Regions from separate parts of the Homo sapiens genome. Here regions 1, 2, 3 and 4 are each linked to region 5. The links are contacts of gene promoters, found by promoter capture Hi-C in blood cells and fetal thymus (Javierre and others, 2016). All regions are on one chromosome and are shown on one strand. The core of a region is centred on a gene start or on the middle of the fragment in contact, and the rest is flanking DNA. Distances in the headings are between cores, read along the strand shown. Region 1 holds the start of SLC25A13 (solute carrier family 25 member 13). Region 2 overlaps DYNC1I1 (dynein cytoplasmic 1 intermediate chain 1). Region 3 has its middle 100 kb from the start of MIR591. Region 4 overlaps SLC25A13 (solute carrier family 25 member 13). Region 5 holds the start of DLX5 (distal-less homeobox 5).

The links. Contacts are between HindIII fragments. The CHiCAGO score rates a contact against its expected background, and 5 or more counts as called.
Region 1: a contact is called between the fragment with the promoter of SLC25A13 here and the fragment with the promoter of DLX5 in region 5, in 1 of 17 cell types (M0 macrophages). The highest score is 5.7, in M0 macrophages.
Region 2: a contact is called between a fragment that was not itself captured here and the fragment with the promoter of DLX5 in region 5, in 1 of 17 cell types (endothelial precursors). The highest score is 5.3, in endothelial precursors.
Region 3: a contact is called between a fragment that was not itself captured here and the fragment with the promoter of DLX5 in region 5, in 1 of 17 cell types (M2 macrophages). The highest score is 5.6, in M2 macrophages.
Region 4: a fragment that was not itself captured here is called in contact with the fragment with the promoter of DLX5 in region 5 in 1 of 17 cell types (total CD4 T cells); the score reaches 5.2 in total CD4 T cells.

Annotation. Positions count from the first base shown.
Region 1 is chr7:96,320,706-96,323,405 of GRCh38, reverse strand. It overlaps SLC25A13 (solute carrier family 25 member 13), which reads left to right and starts at 1,308. Exons shown (of 18, transcript NM_014251.3): 1 at 1,308-1,464. The coding sequence starts at 1,450. RefSeq lists a silencer at 1,173-1,512. The HindIII fragment of the contact is 9,010 bases long and covers 1-2,700 here.
Region 2 is chr7:96,035,544-96,038,243 of GRCh38, reverse strand. DYNC1I1 (dynein cytoplasmic 1 intermediate chain 1) reads right to left here. Exons shown (of 17, transcript NM_001135556.2): 13 at 2,492-2,625. Among named protein-coding and RNA genes, the nearest start is that of MIR591, 180 kb to the left of the region's middle. The HindIII fragment of the contact is 563 bases long and covers 978-1,540 here.
Region 3 is chr7:96,116,125-96,118,824 of GRCh38, reverse strand. No RefSeq gene overlaps it. Among named protein-coding and RNA genes, the nearest start is that of MIR591, 100 kb to the left of the region's middle. The HindIII fragment of the contact is 1,713 bases long and covers 441-2,153 here.
Region 4 is chr7:96,136,588-96,139,287 of GRCh38, reverse strand. The region is part of intron 14 of SLC25A13 (solute carrier family 25 member 13); the gene reads left to right. Among named protein-coding and RNA genes, the nearest start is that of MIR591, 82 kb to the left of the region's middle. RefSeq lists an enhancer at 2,127-2,700. The HindIII fragment of the contact is 3,047 bases long and covers 1-2,700 here.
Region 5 is chr7:97,023,381-97,026,080 of GRCh38, reverse strand. It overlaps DLX5 (distal-less homeobox 5), which reads left to right and starts at 1,250. Exons shown (of 3, transcript NM_005221.6): 1 at 1,250-1,812. The coding sequence starts at 1,458. RefSeq lists enhancers at 1-101, 1,028-1,744. The HindIII fragment of the contact is 4,218 bases long and covers 1-1,730 here.

The DNA.
Region 1 (2,700 bases), core at 59-2,558, 700 kb after region 5:
AGACAACGGAATCATGGGGGCGGTTACTCCCATGCTGTTCTTGTGATAGTGAGTTCTTATGAGATCTGATGGTTTTACAAGGGGCTTTCCCCCCTTTGCTTGGCACTCATTCTCTCTCCTGCAACCCTGTAAAGAGGTGCCTTCCACCACAACTGTAAGTTTCCTGAGGTCTCCCAAACCATGCGAAACTGAGTCAATTAAATCTTTTGGTTTATAAATTACCCAGTCTCAGGTATTTCTTCATAGTGGCATGAGAATTCTCAGTATTCTTATTGAGCCCTGGGAACAGTCTGCTGCCTTAACAGGTTATACTGAAGTAAACATTTATGTGTCTCTTTCCCAATAGCCCTGAAGCTGTTTAACGGTTGGAACCAGTTCTTAAGTCATTTCGGGGTTTCCAGCACCAAGCACAGTGCCTAGCACATAGTAGGAAGGCACTCAATCAACGTTAATGAATTAAACTGATTAGTAATAAGTGCTTTTTGCTGCCATATTACATCCACAACCTACAATACATTAAAAGTCCTTTTCCCTGATCACCACTGTCTTATAAATTTTGATTACAAGGACAGAAGAATGAAATCCTGATGAAGAGGAGTAAGGCCTGGAGGTCATATAAGCAAATTTTCATTAAAATGCTTGTTTATTTATTTTAGTAGGGCCTATTTGGGGGAAGTCTTTTGACCCGGGCCTTTTGACTTCTACCGTTTTAACAGGTAGGGCTGAAATGGAGTAGTTTCATGAATATACGTTCTGCACTACATTCACTTGTTGGGTTCTTAAGAGTTCACCGATTTTGATCTAAAAGTAGGCGTGCCAGCAATATTTGCAATCTCGCCTTCTAAGTCAATGCTTTTGGATCAAAGTCTTTTTGGATCCAGTGTAAAGTGGAGCTCCTTCAAAGGGAACGCACAGGGGAAAAAATATCCAGCAAAGTATGTGTCCTAGTGGAGTTCTCAACTTCCCCAGGCCGTGCACCATCTGTCGTTACTTGCCCCTCCCATCGGTCCGAGGGCCCAGTAGCCCCTGGTATCAGCAGAAGCCAGCAGCTTCCCTGGTGGGGCCACCTGCCCTCAGGTGACGGGCTTGCACACGGCCAAGTTACCTCTGCCCACGCCGCAGAGGCCGCCGCTGCTGGACAGCGCAGCGGGGTCACGTGTCCCTGTCCAGCCACTGCCCCAGGATCTGAGCCCTCCCCGGCTGCAGGGCAGAGGCCGCTGGATCACGCGCACCCCGGCGGCCAAGGCTGGGCCCAGCCAATGGGCGGGCAGCATCCACATGACCCGCGCCGGCGGGAGGGCGTGGGGAGGCAGGCCAGGAACGCACGCTGCCTGGCCGTATCGCCGCCCCCACCGCCGCCGCCGCCGGGACTAGAAGTGAGCCGCCCGGGTCCCAAACGCCAGCCAGCCAGTCAGTGGGTCCCGCAGTCGCCCGCAACCGGGGCGAATCATGGCGGCCGCCAAGGTAACCGCGGGCCCGAGGCCGGGGGGAGCGCGCCTGCCGGATCAGCCTGGGGGTGCGAGAGGCTCGGGCGCTCACGTGTCTGGGTTGGTGCCACAGGCGGAGCAAAATGGGGTGCCGGGCAGCCGTTCCACCTTGCGGCTGCTGGAGGGAGGGGGCCACTCCTCCCGGGCAGCACAGGCGGTCGGTGCAGAGACCGAGGCCCGACCTCGCAGCGGAAACTTTGTGGGCCGGACACTCCCACTTGGCCGGGGAGGGAAGTTGGTGCCTGACGGGGCTGAGCCAGGGCCGACGAGGAGGAGCGGGCGCGACTGGGGCCTGGTGCACCCTGGGCCGGCAAGCGCTGGGGGTCCTCTCTACCTTCCCAGCGCGCTCCTGCTCCTGACCCCGCTGGTTGTTGACTCCGGCTTCTTCCAGGGGCCAGAGCCCGGGCTGAAGCCTGATCCTATTACGTTTCAAGGGCTCCGCCCTCCCGCGGGTGGGGAAGTTACTTTGACTTCCGTTTTGGAAACTGCCTAGGAGACTTGGTCTGCGCCTTTGTGAATAAAAAGTCCAGGGACTCTCCCCCTCCCCGCTTTCCCATCATTCCCATCTTCCCCCTCCCTCTCTCCATCTGACAACACTTAGATACCCGCCTCGGAGCATTTGAGAGGCTTCTTTTTGGGAACGATGAAACAGATTGTCCTGGGAGCCTGTCACTCCTGTGAAGTTGTACTTGAAAGGGGTTCTGTGTAATGTGAATCATTCACTAACCCAGAGGAAAGGCAACTCCAACACTTGACCTTTCCTCTTTCACCATTTCTTGAAACCTGGACACCATTTCAGTCTCTTTGGACTGCATTTCAACTTCTCTGGCAGAATACCATATTTAGTCCCAATCACTTGAATCATTTGGAATTTATTGCTTTTAATTTAAGTTCACGAAGGCAGCCCTCTAATCAAGCCTATACAACTTCTTAGCTCATTTTAAGTGCAGTGAACTTAAATATACCTAACATTTCAAACATTTGTCCTTAATCAAAACTCTGTGATAACCCTCAAGAGGAAAACATGGCCAACACATCATATTCCTATTTATTCAAGCAAACTAATCACATTTGCAATGGAAATTGTAAGCAGACAAATATATTTAAATGCTGTTCTATGACTTAAGTCTCTCCAGGCTCCCCAAATCCGTAGGCTTCTTCATGTTGTTAGTTTCTGTGGTCTAAGTGGCATTTCTCTTTTCTGTAATTACTC
Region 2 (2,700 bases), core at 10-2,509, 990 kb after region 5:
TAAAACATTTGGGCCTCTGGAGCACCAATAAATGTCAATGTGCTTAGCAAAATTTGGAATCATGAGCAAAGTGTGGCAGTGCGTGTTCCATGTAACAGGCACTCAAAAATTATGCCCAGTGAAACTGCTAAGAGCAGTTCCACACATGATCATTTAAATTTGTTCTAATGAACCCGAGGAACTGATCTTTGAAGTGGCCCCTGGTGAGACTCCACTTGCTCTTAACAGCATCCTGAAAGGATTTATAGGGTGCAAAATGAGGACCTTGTTTAATTTATGGAAGTGGATTTGCACCTTCTCTATGTTAGGTGAAAAATAGCAATCCCCTGCTTCTCCCCCATAGACCTATATGACCCATTTAGAATGACTACAAAGCCAATGCCTGCTACGTTACAATGTTACTAAGGTCTGTATTTTATATTTCAGATGGATGGACCAATGTAAAGCAAAATTCAGCTTGTTGTAAAAAGATTTGTGGTGTGTGCCATAGGGACCCTTCTTTTGAACCAAAGTGCATATTCTGATAGTGCTTAGAAAGTACAGTAGCCACAGAACAAGAATGTTCATCATGTAAAATGTTATTCACTTTATAGCAATGAAAAAAATCTGGAAATTATCAATGAATGTATTCTATAGCCTTCGTAGATAATCAAGGACCTAGGTAAAACCATGGGTTAAGTTAACTGAACCTATGCCATGTTGATTCTAATACGCATATAGATAAAGCTGTGACTCCAGGTCTGGCCTACTATACTCTCTATGCCTCTCATGCCACTTAAGACATTCTACTCATGTTCCAGATATTTGTGTATTTATCTTTCTCACCGTCATCAGTTATTTTGAAGAGAGAAACCAGGTTTACATGACGTCTGCAGGCCTTGCAGAACCTAACAATGCACTTTGCTCAAAGTAGGCATACAACAAATATATTTATGAATGAATAACTTTATCAAATATTTTTATGCTTTGATAAAGCTTTAATGTGTGGTTTTAGCCAGGGTTTATGAAGGAGGATCATTGGGAATGGACTGTGAGGCATATCTTCCTAAGTCATCTTTGAATCATGTGAGGGGACAAATACTGCTTGTTTCTACGTGCAGAACAGCAGGAACATAACAGCTTGTATAGTTTGAATGGAAAAAGTCACATAGCTGAGCCATGGATGCTTGTCATTTCTACAAATCACAAAAACACAGGGATATGAACTTGGAACAATTTGTGGTTCTTCATTAAATCTTAATAGCCTCGGATGAGTGCAAGAGATGAAAAAAAATCAATGGAATAAGAACTACTAAAGTAAAAGACAAATTAAGCACCAGTGTGAACATAGTGACCCTTTCAAAAGACATGAGGCCACCTGTTAAGTTTTGCATGCAATTTTACAATCTAGTCCAAACTATTGGATTCCACTTTATACTGACAACTCTTTTCCAGGGGCATTGTGAATCTCTCAGTTAAGGTAGAGTTCTTATCACCTGGGAACTGCATGGTGGTTTGTGTGACTCACTCTGTTCTGACCCATCTGACTGGGAGGAAAGCTTTTAAGGCACTTCTTTAGATTGGATGGATTACATTATATATCATTTCTTTATCCCCAATATATATTTTTAGCTCCTCACTTACTATGTCCTAGGTACTGTGCAGGAAATCAAAGATGAAATGGAAATAATGTAGTAAGAGAAAAATGGCAGATGAATGAATAAACTAAAATACGATTAATGCTATTATAGAAGCATAAGGAAAATATATGAAATTGTCAACTTGACAGCCTATAGTCCTATCCCACTTATTCTACTTTAATTTTCTCCATTGCACTTACCATCCTAAACTATATATTTATTTGCTTATTAGTATTTTACCCTCAACTAGAATATGAACTCTAGGTCTGTCTTGTTCTTTAATGTATCCTTTTGATGATGCCTGGCACATGGTAGGTTCTTAGTAAATATTCCTTGGAAGAGTGAATGAATAAGAGAATTGAAAATTCTATGGGACTTAAAGGTGGGAGTGGTTTTCTTTGCCCAAGAGTCAGAAAATGTTTCACATGGAATGATCTCTGTGCTGGCTCTTGAATGATGAGGAGGAATTAACCAGGCCAAAAAGGGAGAAATGCTAGAACTGGTAAAAGAAGTTGAGTATGCAAACTCATTGAGGCATGGAGGGATAAGAAATATTTGGGGATTGTTATCTCTGATGGGCACATGGCTAGACCCTGAAGGTATGCGGAGATGCTGGGAAGGTGCAAGTGGTCTGTTATGATAGGCTCAGAAGCTCGAGCTTTTTTCCCTCAAGGCAGTGTGAACCACCACAGTCTTATGAACAGCTAATGACCAGAGCAGATGCAGCTCTTTAAGATAATGAAGAGTTGAAGTCGTGCTTTCCATTTTTCCAGAGATGCTTTCTCATAATGCAAGGTGGTTAAAATCCAGAATGTGATAACAGACTTTCGGAAATGAAGAACATGTCATCAGTAAAGAAACAGAAAAATCACCTTCCATGACGACAAGCCGTGTAGACTGTACCTTCCTCACTGCCAACCACGAAGTTATTGACGTCTCCCGTTGGGAAAGCCATTCCGGTAACAGCGACAGGCTTGGACTTATTGTACACCAGCTCCATGCTCTCCTACCAAAACACGGTGTGGTTACATTTCCATCTGTCAACTCCTTGCCATGCCAAAGATAGCACGGAAAAATCATT
Region 3 (2,700 bases), core at 48-2,547, 910 kb after region 5:
TGGGTCGTTTCCCTCTGTAGGGCTGAGGAACTGAAGCTGGTAACTCCCACATGCCTGCCTGCTTGCCTGCCTACGTGAGGGGGCCAGCCTCCTCTGCTCTGCCTGCCCCGAGTCTCCACTCTGCTCCTGGTCCACCACGTGATTCCTTGGGGGTTGGGAGAGAGGTCTGATTTTCATAGCAGCTTTTTTTTTTTTTCAAGGAGGGGAAAAATGTGAAGCTGACCACAAAGTGAACACACTGATTCTTGGGTTCCAGTCATGGCTGGGTTTCTTGAGGCTGGGTGGCATGCTGTCGCCAAGCTCCTGCTACACCTCGTAACCCACAACCATTTGCTGAGCTCCCTGGGGTTGCCTTAATCCCAGAAGCCAGGGTCGCACAGAGGAAAATAAGAATTCTGGCACAGAAAGGAGTCATTTAAGTGCTTATTGCATTTCAAGCTTTAGTTTCTACTTAGCTAAAATATTTACCATTGCTGGAAAACAATGTTTAAAATGTTGTGCTTATATGTTATTTAATGGCGTGGCCTATGTAAACCTCAGGATGCTTACATTTTGACAGTCTTCTGGAAATGTCTAACAGCACATAACCCAGCGAGTGGGGAATCAAAACGGGAACAAATGGCGCTTGAAACTGTTTGTAACCTCCTCCAACTAGGTATTCAGAATGCAAGTCATGCTGGAATGCTTCAGGTAGAGGGAGATCTCAAAAAAGAAATTTGATGAGTCCTGTCTTATGGCCCCATTTATCAACCTTCCAAATAAACTGTCCCTAAAAGTCATCATGTGCCTTTTACCGCAGAAGGCATACTTGTGGGGATGAATTTGTATCCTTGCCACTGAGCAAAATCCCATTTTCAAATCAGGGTAATCAAATGCTTTCAGGATGTGGATTTTTCCAAAGATTTTTAAGAGACACGTTCCCTGGTCAGAGCAGTGAAATGTTCTTTCCACAAATGGTACTGCCCACAAAGGAGTGTGTGCCTTTTGTTTTACCTTTGGGGAATAACCTTCACCAAAGAGTTCTGTTATGTTAGGAAGACCATGGGGAGTTCATTGCTTCATTTTAATGTCTGAGGCATCTAACAGCATTGTCACCTCTGCCTTTTTTTTTTTTTTTTTTTTTTTTTTTTTTTTTTTTTTTTTTTTTTGAGATGGAGTTTTGCTCTTGTTGCCCAGGCTGGAGTGCAGTGGTGCAATCTCGGCTCACTTCAACCTCCACTTCCCAGGTTCATGCGATTCTCCTGCCTCAGCCTCCCAAGTAGCTGGGATTACAAGCATATGCCACCACACTCGACTCATTATTTGTATTTTAAGTAGAGACAGAGTTTTTCCATGTTGGCCAGGCTGATCTCGAATTCCCGACCTCAGGTGATCCGCCTGGCTCACCCTCCCAAAGTGCTGGGATTACAGGTGTGAGCCACTGCGCCCGGCCACCTCCGTCTCTTAAAACAGTGGCAGTCTTCAGCTTGAAAGTCCAGATCGGGATCCATGATGGTTGGGATTGTGTCTCTGATTCTCTTAGTAGAGGCTCCTAGTTATTATTTTGAAGGATGGATGAATGGATGAATTTTTGAGAAACACTCTTGAAAAATGCATGTTACCCTGTTGCTGCCTGCCCTATTCCCCTCATCTCCCCATCATTGGCACCCATTTGCTTTTAAAATTCACTTTATCTTGAATCATGGAAGACAAATATATTCTGACATAAGTATTTAATTTCATGGTGCCTTGCATAATGGTCAGAGGCACATGAGTTTGTGAGGGTGGAAATAAACTATTCGTATTTTTTTCCCAAATGAGTGATCTCCATTATTGTCCTACTTTATAGGCCTTTTCTATTGCTGGAGTTAAAACCATAACTGAAAACAATCACAGTTTTATGTACTGATCACTTACTTTACAAGTCATAAATAAATATTTTATTAAAACAACTAAAGCTATTTAAAATTGACTTTAGTTGAGTCAGGCATTGTCACATAAACTATATGATAAATTTAAATTCCCTGGTCTTGGTTAAAAATAAAACTTTAAAAAAATCATCCTCTGAGATGAGTTTTACATTCTAACACGAGTTGAAATGTATTAGTACAATAGTTGTTCTTATCAATGAATGTATTACTTGTTTACAGCTCACCTCTCTTGTTTCTGAAGCTTTCCCTTCGAAGCTGCTGAAGACAACAGGAACTCTCTTTTAAAAGGGTTTGTTTTTAGCTAATGCATTAATTGACTCCAAAAAGAGTCCAAATGGAACACTCTGCTTTCATCTGCTAGGGTAACCTAATAAAATAATGTTGTTTGCTTTTAGATTCCCAGCCGTTAAGCGGGTTTTGCTCAAAGCAAAACCACAGTCCCGTCGAATAACTTTAGAAGGAAAATTAAGAAGACGCAGTAATTGTGCTTTTCTGAGCCTCACTTCTCCTGGGTCACAGACACACCCCCAGCACACTGGTCTGGCCACTAAGGCTCCAGTGCCTACCGCTGCTTTGGACAGGGCTTCGGCCCTTCAGAGGATGCTCCATTTTGCAGTGGAGCATTTCTTTAAGTGATTTTAAAGTGAACTCAAGATCCCAGAACAGACTAGTGCAAATGTGCTACAGTCTATTCTATAAGATGGGGAAAGGGAAATACAGCTTGATGAAAAGAACTGAAAACATTATTTGTTATCTTCTGTCATTCTCCTCCACCATCCCTAGCTACTTA
Region 4 (2,700 bases), core at 141-2,640, 890 kb after region 5:
TCAGTTACCCAGGTAGTGAGCATAGTACCCAATACTTAGTTTGAAAAAAAAATTTTTCTTTTTACGAAACTTCCCCTGTGCTTCAGATGAATCATTGACTCGTGTGTAGAAAGAGGATAATAATCATACCTACCTATTCATAGTATCGTTGTGTGGATTTACTAAAATAATGCATGTAAAGCATACAGGATAGAGTTGAGCACATAGTACACATGATGTGTTAGTTGTTATCAACTTTTCATTATTGAGTGTCAACTAAGGGATTCTTGCAGGAATACCTAGTTTCTTCCACATTATTCCAGTCCTGGGTAATTTCCAATGCTGTGTGGTCAACAACCTCTCCAGGCCAGGTCTTCTGCTTTGAACTTTAGAATAGCAAATTAAAAGGAGATGGCTTGAAAAATATTATTTTTATAAAACAATGCCCAGAGGAATTGAGTGTGCTAAAGACACCAGAAAAAAAGGATTCCTTAAAGTAACAGCAAATGATCAATTTTTTTAACCATTCTTTTATTCTTTCACCAAATGTATATTGAATGCTAACACTATTAGATGCTAGAGTACCAAAGATGTGTACAGTATCATTGCCTTAAAAATGATCTATGTTAAGGGGCAAGAGAAGAGAAACATATAATTCTAGTGCCAGCACTTTGGGAGTGCAGGAGTTCAAGACCAGCCTGGGCAACATAGTGAGACCTCATCTCTACACAAAAATATTTTTTTAATTAGCTAGACATGGTGTCATGCACCTGTAGTCCCAGCTACTTGGGAGGCTGAGGGGGGAAGAGCACTTGAGCCCAGGGGGTCAAGGCTGCAGTGAGCCATGATTGCACCACTGCACTCTAACCTAAGTGATAGAGCAAGACTCTGTTTCAAAAAAAAAAAAAAAGAAAAAGAAAAAAATGCAACAAATTGCAGGTGTAGGATAATTGAAAATAATCCAGACTAGACACATCAGAGGAAAACTGCTGAACACCAGAGCTAGAGAGAAGCTCTTTAGTGGCCAGAGAAAAAAAGTCAATTTGCCTTCAAAGGGGCAACAGTTGAACTGACGGCTAACCTAAAAATGGCAACAGTGGAAGCCAGAAGACAGTTGAATGGGGTGTCTTCAGTATGTGGAGGAAAAAAACTTTTCAACCTAGACTTGTATACCCTGTAAAAATTGCTTTTAAGAACAAGGGTAAAGATATTTTTTAGACTAGCAAAACTCAGAAAGTGTGTCACCAGTAGAACCTTAATGAAGGAAATTCTGGAAGGTGATCCCAGGTGGAGATGTGTCAGGAATGAATAGCAAAAAAAGTGGTAAATGTTTAGTCTTGTTAAAAGTAAAACTTCAGCCAAAGTAAGGGAGTTTAATTGTACAATGAATGATTCGTGAATCAGGCAGCCCCCAGAATCACAGCAGAGAGTGCTGAGGCGGGCAGATCACAAGGTCAAAAGGTCAGGACCATCCTGGCCAACATGTTGAAACCCCATCTCTACTAAAAATACAAAAATTTGCTGGGCATGGTGGCGCACGCCTGTAGTCCCAGCTACTTGGGAGGCTGAGACAGGAGAATTGCTTGAACCAGAGGTGGAGGTTGCAGTGAGCCAAGATTGCACCACTGCACTCCAGCACTGTCTCAAAAAATAATAATAATAAAGAAATAAAGAAAAGGTGGAACATGTTTTACAGATGAGCTTTGTGAAGGTGACATGACTAGCAGCTTCAGGACTAAAATTCCATGTGATAACATTCCTCTGTACCATGTCTAGGATTTTCAGTCCATCTCAGTGATGAGCATTGTTGATGGCAAAGCAGTGTACAATACTAGAACAATAGAGAACTAGCACTGACCCAAGCAGCATTTCCTACAAGAAACAGAGTTGTCAAGATGATTTTGTTAGAATTGCAATGAAATTAAGGAGAACCCATATCCCTAAAGTCCCTGGATTAAAGAAGCCAAGTAATAGTCATTCATATTTCATATTCAAATTGAAGTAATTTCCATGTTCACTGATATCAAGTCTTCAAATGTTGGCTGGCTTATTTGGTTTTAACACAAGTGACACAATCACATAATAGGTCTTGGCACCATTGCTATTTCTCAGCAAGACACTCAAACTCACCCTCCTCAAATCTCAGCCATGTAGGTGGGGTCTAACCATCCTTTGACTGGGCTGGAGAGGCACTGCCAAGCTGTGTATCTAAGGGTTAACTTGCTTGGGGGAAGCCAAGAGGAATGCTAAGGGATCAAGTCATGACATGCTGCCCATTGTTTGTAGCTCTGGGATCAAAATATATAATTATACATGCCAAATAAATTCTAAACCTGTAAGGTAGGAAAAGAGGGCTGGGTGGCTCTGACGACAGGTGCCAGAAGCATTGAATAACCTTCTCAGACAAGGTGCACCACTGTTGTCTTGAATGCTGCAGGGTCCCCAGTCTGGCATTTTCCCCGTGCTAGACAATGTGCATTCACTGCTGGAGTCTCTGTTAAGCCTCCGTCTCCCAGACCTGCTGGCTCCTGGTGCCCGGCCCGACACAGAGGTGCCTTTGTGAGTGTAATTACCTTTCCCTGTATTAGAAATAGTCTGTTTAGAGCTGTGTTTGCAGGTACAGCTAGAATAAGCAGGAATTAGCATGCAAAAAGACCTGCCCTGGCCCTGACTTCTTTATCAGCACCATCCTTCAGGACTGGTTTTTTCCCCACTTTGGAT
Region 5 (2,700 bases), core at 1-2,500:
CTGAATTTCTAAACTCCCAGCTGAATCACGACTAGAACAAGGATAGCACCTCCTGAAGAGCAAAGTTTAGATCTCGTGTATCAACTGAATGATTCTTGAATCCTTTCTTCCCTTGCATACGAGCTAAGTAGGATGTCTTTGCAGCAGGAAATAAAGGGGAGAGGGTACAGAAACCCGGGTCTGGGAAATGGAGAGACTGGGCCACATTCATGGAGCCAGGAGGGGGAAATCAATGAGCATCATCTGACTTTGCAAAGGCTTTGATCCTTGTCTCCTTCCCCACTTCCGAGACTTTCCCATTCTTTCCTGGAGGTATGGCAGGTTATACATGGATCCATTCACCTTTGCGGGAGTCTTTGGCCACTGAACATAGTTAAAGAGCCTTTATTCCAATGTCTTGAAAATAGATGAAAATATTAAACAGAAGTGGAGCTGTTTGGCTCTTTTTGCAAGCCAGCAACGAGGATTTGGGCTTCCTTAAGTTATATGTGTTTAAGACAGTAATTTTTAAAAGTCATTATAAGGACTTTGGGCTGCAGGAACTCTCCCTGCCATTCACCGGCTTAATGGACATTGTGCCTTCTTGGGCATTCCTGTCCAGCCCGCGTCCGGGAGATACTCATCTCCTGCAAAGGAAGTTGCCTCTTTCCCCAAAGAGCAAATTTTCAAAACATGTAAGTTACAACTTGCTTCCCAACACTCCACTAAAAAAAAAAAAAATGCTGTTTCCCTTCCTTCTTGCCTCCATCCTACATCCCCCCGCTCCCCACTCCCTGCACCTTGACTCCCTATTTCAGTATCAGTGTTTAATTCTACACTCGCCTTTGGTGCAGCCCACGGGGGCGGGGTAGTGGGAAGCAAGGAAAGATGGTCGCCCACCTCATTCCCAAAACATGTGCACTTTTGAGGCTTCTGATTGGAACACATTGTCCCCAGACATCACAGAGCCTTGTGCTGTGGCTTCTGCGATGTCTTTGGAATTTACTAAAAACAGATAGACTAAGACCCCTCCCCACTCCACAACAAGCAAAAACACACACAAGCGCGCGGGCGCGCACACACACAAACACACACACCCCCTCAGTACCCCCCACCCCCTTTTTAAGCAATGCTTTGTTGTGCTAAAACTAGTTGGACGAGTTAGGGTGTTACTGTTGCTCCCGAGGCCCTGGCCAATAGAACCAGATCCACCCCGCTGTGCGTAAGCGCGCAATTAAGGATTTAACCAAGGCTGTGCTGCGCCTCAGCCAGCAGTCAGCCGGCCGGAGACAGAGACTTCACGACTCCCAGTCTCCTCCTCGCCGCGGCCGCCGCCTCCTCCTTCTCTCCTCCTCCTCTTCCTCCTCCTCCCTCGCTCCCACAGCCATGTCTGCTTAGACCAGAGCAGCCCCACAGCCAACTAGGGCAGCTGCCGCCGCCACAACAGCAAGGACAGCCGCTGCCGCCGCCCGTGAGCGATGACAGGAGTGTTTGACAGAAGGGTCCCCAGCATCCGATCCGGCGACTTCCAAGCTCCGTTCCAGACGTCCGCAGCTATGCACCATCCGTCTCAGGAATCGCCAACTTTGCCCGAGTCTTCAGCTACCGATTCTGACTACTACAGCCCTACGGGGGGAGCCCCGCACGGCTACTGCTCTCCTACCTCGGCTTCCTATGGCAAAGCTCTCAACCCCTACCAGTATCAGTATCACGGCGTGAACGGCTCCGCCGGGAGCTACCCAGCCAAAGCTTATGCCGACTATAGCTACGCTAGCTCCTACCACCAGTACGGCGGCGCCTACAACCGCGTCCCAAGCGCCACCAACCAGCCAGGTACATGGACAGGGGGAAGGCTGGGCAGATACAGGGCGACTAGGACGCTGGGGGCGCGAGATGGGGTGGTAGATTGGGGGTCACAGCGGTTCACGGCAGTGGGGGCGCACGCGGCAGAAGGGAGTAGGACTCAGACCCTCCAACAAAGAGAGTTTCTCGGGCCAGCATTTTAGGGATTTTTAGTAGGAGAGCCCTGTGGAGGTTCGAACTAGCGTCTCTCCCCTCCGGCACCTTCCAAGGCCCTTCAGTCGCTGAATTCCCAGCTTGCCCGGCCAGGAAGCCGGCTAGGCTGGAAAGGGGATAGGGGTGGAGAGAAGAAAGAATCAAGCAGCTCCTGGCGTTTGCGTAACAAAGAGAAGGTTACTTGGGAATTTTGGTAAGCGTGCTGGGTTGGTGCGAGTGGGAATAGAAGGCTGCCTCAAAAACTCAGTCAGGATTAGTTTGAGAGCCGCCACAAGCTAGCACGGTGCGGGTGCCCTGAGCACGCTGGGTGGGGGTGGGGGGGTTAAGGAGTTGTAGCCAGCCAGAGAAGAGCGCGCCGAGAGTTTTGCGGTTTATCCAGGCATTTCCAAAAACAAAAAGCCATTTAAAGGTGGAGGAGGGTTGCTGAGGGGTCACGTTGTAGGATAGATTTTTTTTTCTGTCTCCATAGGCGCCCACAATTTGTCTTTCCGTCCTCCTTTTTCGTCCGCTTTGAAACTTACTTAGAGAGTTTAAGAGGGTTAGTGAGCTTGGGCGGTAAGAGAAAGGCATGAGGCTCGGCGGAGAGGTTTTATTGGTAAGGTTTGATCTCTTCCCACCAGCACATTAATAATCCTGCTAATATTAGCATCCCCTACTCTGGCAGAATTGAGACCACAGCCCTCATCCTCCACACTTCTCCCTGGA